Regions from separate parts of the Homo sapiens genome. Here region 1 is linked to region 2. Evidence: promoter capture Hi-C in 16 types of primary human blood cells and fetal thymus (Javierre and others, 2016). All regions are on one chromosome and are shown on one strand. The core of a region is centred on a gene start or on the middle of the fragment in contact, and the rest is flanking DNA. Distances in the headings are between cores, read along the strand shown.

The links. Contacts are between HindIII fragments. The CHiCAGO score rates a contact against its expected background, and 5 or more counts as called.
Region 1: a fragment that was not itself captured here is called in contact with the fragment with the promoter of TEDDM1 in region 2 in 2 of 17 cell types (megakaryocytes and fetal thymus); the score reaches 7.8 in megakaryocytes.

What each region holds. Positions count from the first base shown.
Region 1 is chr1:182,259,517-182,262,216 of GRCh38, reverse strand. The region is part of intron 2 of LINC01344 (long intergenic non-protein coding RNA 1344); the gene reads left to right. Among named protein-coding and RNA genes, the nearest start is that of LINC01344, 53 kb to the left of the region's middle. The HindIII fragment of the contact is 1,412 bases long and covers 552-1,963 here.
Region 2 is chr1:182,399,328-182,402,027 of GRCh38, reverse strand. It overlaps TEDDM1 (transmembrane epididymal protein 1), which reads left to right and starts at 1,361. Exons shown (of 1, transcript NM_172000.4): 1 at 1,361-2,700. The coding sequence starts at 1,543. The coding sequence ends at 2,364. The HindIII fragment of the contact is 8,350 bases long and covers 1-2,700 here.

The sequences.
Region 1 (2,700 bases), core at 8-2,507, 140 kb after region 2:
CAGATTTTCTACTTTCTTTTTCCTTTTTCTTTTTCTTTCTTTTTTCTTAGGGGGGACAGAGTCTCACTCTGTCACCCAGGCTGGAGTGCAGTGGTGCGATCTCAGCTCACTGCAACCTCTGCCTCCCGGGTTTAAGTGATTCTTGTGCCTCAGCCTCCCAAGTAGCTAAGATTACAGGTGTGTGCCACCATACCTGGCTAATTTTTGTATTTTTAATAAAGACAGGGTTTCACCATGTTGGCCAGGCTGGTCTTGAACTCGTGGCCTCAAGTGTTTCACCCACCTCAGCCTCCCAAAGTGTTGGGACTACAGGCATGAGCCACTGCACCTGGCCAGTTTATATGAATAAGCAGGTTTTCTACTTTCAGTACTACTTTATTTTTTTGCTCAAATTGTTCTAGTTTTGGACATTGGGAGCACTTTCAGTTTCCTCCTGTGTCTCTTTGACATAGCCCCATCAGTGTGTGTTTGTTTTGTTTATTTGGTTTTTTTTGTTTGTTTTTGTTTTTGAGCACTTTCTTACTTTCTGGCACTACAAGATGTTTTAAGCTTGTCTTGTATATATCCTGCCCTGGTCAAAATCTAGAATTTAAAGTATGAGAACACATCTCAAGGTAAAAGGACAAAATCAGATTCTATGAAGACTGTTAACAGTAGCAAAGAGAGAACACAGAAAATGGCCAACAAGAGGGCAGACATAAGAGTTCAGTAGTGATACTAGAGTTTAAGTAACAAAATAAGCAGTCAATTTCCATATAAGAATGCAAATGTGGCCGGGCGCAGTGGCTCACGCTTGTAATCCCAGCACTTTGGGAGGCTGAGGCGGGCAGATCACCTGAGGTTGGGAGTTCGAGACCAGCCTGACCAACATGGAGAAACCCTGTCTCTACCAAAAATACAAAATTAGCTGGGCGTGGTGGCATGCGCCTGTAATCCCAGCTACTTGGGAGGCTGAGGCCGGAGAATCACTTGAACCCGGGAGGCAGAGGTTGCCATGAGCTGAGATCGCACCATTGCACTCCAGCCTGAGCAACAAGAGCAAAACTCTATTTCAAAAAAAAAAAAAAAGAATGTAAATGCATTGTTATGGATTTCCCAGAGACTTGGTGGACAATGTTTGGTGACTGCAATGTTGCTGTGGGAGGGCATGCTTTTGCAGGTTTGCTGGGCCCAGCAGACATGGCAAGTCCTGGCTATCCATGAACTCAAGCACAGAAGCCCAGTGGGCACATTTAGGGGAAAGCTCAATACAAGGAAAACCAGTAGTAACAACATGGCAGGACTGAGGATGATGCTACCTTAATATAGCATAAAGAATACAGATGTGGCCAGGTGTGGTGGCTCGCGCCTGTCATCCCAGCACTTTGGGAGGCTGAGCAGTTGGATTAGATAACTTTAAAAGTTATCTGGAACTGCTGTGGGAGTCTCACAACTGTTGTAGTCTCCATAGGCCCTTAGCTCATGGGTCATTTCAGATGTGGCAAAGTCACTTCAGGCTGACCACAGCTCTCTGGTTCCCTCTATCCTTGGGCTGCATGAGCATTTGAGGCTTTGAGGAGAAGATACACAGGCCAGGGACCTTGTCAGGTAACGTCGACCACCCTGCTCCTTGTGCAAGCTGCCATCTTTTTTAAAAAAAATCTGTCATCAGTGAGTACAGAAAAATAAAATGTCAGCACTTCATATGGGTATATGACTGGGGATGGGGCAGGGGAGATTCACTTATGGATTAATAAAGATAGTGAACAAAGAAAGGGGACAGAGATTATTCTATGGTAATAAAGTAATTTATATCTGTTTTGCTATAAAATAACTATTTTTCTCTAAATCTAATGTTAATGTCAGCCAAAATCACCTCTATTCATTTATTCAATCATCAAGGGATATTTATAATCTCTTGAGTGTCAGTTTGGTACCAAGCACTTTTCTGGGCACTGGGATACATTATTGAACATGACAAGCTTCTCAGCCCTTCAGGACAGTTTGGAACATCTGGCTGTGGTGACCACAGTCTGTCAATGTTCCCTACTGTGCTGAACCTGGTGATTTCCTCTTGAGTATAAGACAATACCACTCAATGAACTGGACAGAGACTTCATGAAAGAGGACCCAGGTGAATGCAGGGAAAGAACTGGGATGTTGGTTTTGACTGGTGCAAACTTCTGCCATTTTAGTGTACAACTGAAAGGGCTGCACATTCCTTTGGCTAATTCCACAATGACACGACCTCTTCCTCTTCCAACCCGCTGTGAATCCTCTTTGCAAATTTTACACGGGCTTACATGTTAATTTTTCAAACCATCACCCCTTTCTTCTATTCCCTTTCCTCCAAAACAAATCCACAAAAACAAAGGAAAAAAAGCTCTAAAACAAGAAAGTGGAGGGTATATTTCCTTTTCATTATTTTGCCTTTTCATGCCCTTCACATCTGGCCTCTGCCACAACTGGTAGCAGAAATGCTAACCTATCATGAGAAAGGCTTTTCTGGGGGAGTGTGCCCCTGGCAGCAGCGACAGCAGTGGCAGGAAGTACAGGAAACCTCATGAGATGGCCTGTTCTTGAACACTTGCCAGCCTGCTTCTGCAGACTCATGAGGTTAAGAGAAACATGCAAGCTATCAGGGAGGTTATTGGGACAGAGCCCCAGTTGTCGATTGTTTGAGGTTCACTCATAACTGGCAAAATGACCACAGGGCACAAC
Region 2 (2,700 bases), core at 112-2,611:
GAGTTTGAGACCCAGCATGGACAATGTAGTGAGACCTCATCTCTACAAAAAATAGCTGGATGTGGTGGCTCATGTCTGTTGTCCCAGCTACTCAGCAGCTGAGGCAGGAGGATTGATTGAGCTCAGGAGGTTGAGGCTGCAGTGAGCCGTCATCAAGCCACTGCACTGCAACCTGGGCAACAAAGCGAGACACTGTCTAAAAATAAAAATAAAAATAGAAATAAAAATAAATAAATGAAGACTCTTGCCTTGGATGCAACCCCTCATATGCAGCTGGCTGCTACCTAGTGCTTAGAACTCTTTCTGCCTATATGTGTTAGACACATAGTAAATGATAATTAAAGAGAGAATAAAGTTGAGGACCTAATTCACATTAAAATATAAGCAGTTTGTTGGATCTACTTATCTCAACATATCTGCATTTTAATAAAAAATTATACCTTAACATTCCAAAATTGATCTCAAAAGGTGACATTTTACATTCATCTACTGTTCTTTGGAAAGATAATTTGGGGCAATTGAGCTGCTTTCTTTGTGATCCCCAAAAACTGTTACAGAAGAATGAAGAGGACAAGAGCTCAGTATCTATATATATGAGCACACATCCAAACGTTTATAAACTTTTATGTCTAGGAAGAATGTATTTGCTCTCAGTATATGACCCAACATATGAGTAAGGAGTCTTTTTTTTTTTTGAGACAGTCTCGCTCTGTCACCCAGGCTGGAGTGTAGTGAGATGATCCTGGCCCACTGCAACATCCGCCTCCCGGGTTCAAGTAATTCTCCTGCCTCAGCCTTCCAAGTGGCTGGGATTACAGGCACTCTTTACCATGCCCAGCTAGTTTTTGTATTTTTAGTGGAGATGGGATTTCACCATGTTGGCCAGGCTGATCTCGAACTCCTGACCTCGAGATCTGCCTTGGCCTCCCAAAGTGCTGGGATTACAGGCTTGAGCCACCATGCCTGTCCGAGTAAGGAGTCTTAAAGGATGCATTAAGGTTTGTGAGTAACCCGGGTCTTCTCTGGATAATCTCCGTGCTCAGGCACCTCTCTTTTTCTACTCCGAGCATTGAACAGGGGCAGAAGGAAGCAAGCCATGAGAGAGAGGGACAAGTGTAACCAGAAGGTCCTCAAGGGTCCAAAAGCAGAGCTCCTGAGAGCACAAATTCCCACAGGTGCATACTAAAAAATATTTATGTTTCTACTTTGGCAGAACTCAATTAGTTCCCAGTGTACTGGAATGAAATGGAACAATGAGACCCACCTCACTAAAAACCTAGGCTCCTGTCCAGAACTTTCCAGTCTGTGAGAGAGCAGTGGGCAGAAGGAGATGATAAAAGTAGGTAGAACTTAGCTCTGTATATATAGGCCCAGAACTCGAGAGGCCTGTGAGGGAGAGGAGAGCAGAGAGGTCCTGAGTATTGCTCTTCACGCTTCAGTCGGACAGGCCTGTATTCCATGGGAAAGTCCATTGGCCATTTTTAACTGGGGCTATTTCTTTTCTCTTATGGACTATATCAGGCCACAGTGGTCTCCAAGGGCATGATACTCAAAGGTTGTCTCCTGTATCCTTTGTGCTCTCCCAGGAATAAGCAAAGATGTGCCAGGCTGTGGAAAATAGCCTATGGAGGATTACTAAAGATAGTGACTGGCTCCCTCTTAACATTTTATGTGGTTCTCTGTCTTGATGGCGGGATGGTGCTCATGAGGAAGCAAGTGCCATCAAGGTTCATGTACCCCAAAGAGTGGCAGCACCTCACCATGTTCATCCTCCTCACTCTTAATGGCTGTGTGGACTTCATGAGCAAGAATGTGCTGCCTCAGAGGTGTGTGGGCCTAGAAAAAGGTACCCTGGTCCTGATCATCTACGAGCTCCTGCTGCTGATGGTGTCACATGTTAAAGATTCAGAAGGGGTGGAGCTGCACGTTTATTCTCTGCTCATCTTGGTGGTGTTCCTGCTGTTGCTGGTGTTGACTGCAGAGCTGTGGGCTCCCAACATGTGTCATCTCCAGCTGATGGAGACCTTTCTGATTCTGATGATGGGCTCCTGGCTGATGCAGGCAGGCTTTATTCTATACAGACCCGTCTCTGGCTACCCATGGCAGGACGATGACATCAGTGACATCATGTTTGTCACCACCTTCTTCTGCTGGCATGTGATGATCAATGCCTCATTCCTGTTGGGAATCTATGGCTTCTCTTCCTTTTGGTATCATTGTTTCAGACCCAGCTTGAAGCTGACTGGGCCCAAAGAAGCTCCATATTATGCAAGCACTCCAGGACCCCTCTACAAGTTGCTACAGGAAGTGGAGCAGTCAGAGAAAGAGGACCAGGCTCTCCTCCTTCCAAAGAGCTCCCCCTGAGACAGGGCCTACAGTGGCTGGCACATCGTCCACCTCATCTTCCTCCTGTTGGCTCCTCAGCCACGAGCATGGTACCCTCCTTGGTAAAGGTAATGGCCTTGAAGGCTAGCAGTTGGTCCCGTCTGCTGGTTCATTTTCTTTTCTTCTCTTTTCTTTTTTTTTTTTTTTGAGACAGAGTCTCGCTCTGTTGCCCAGCCTGGAGTGCAATGGCACAATCTCAGCTCAGTGCAACCTCCGCCTCCCGAGTTCAAGCGATTCTCCTGCCTCAGCCTCCCGAGTAGCTGCAATTACAGGAGCCTGCCACCATGCCCGTGCTGGTGCATTTTCTGTCCCTGA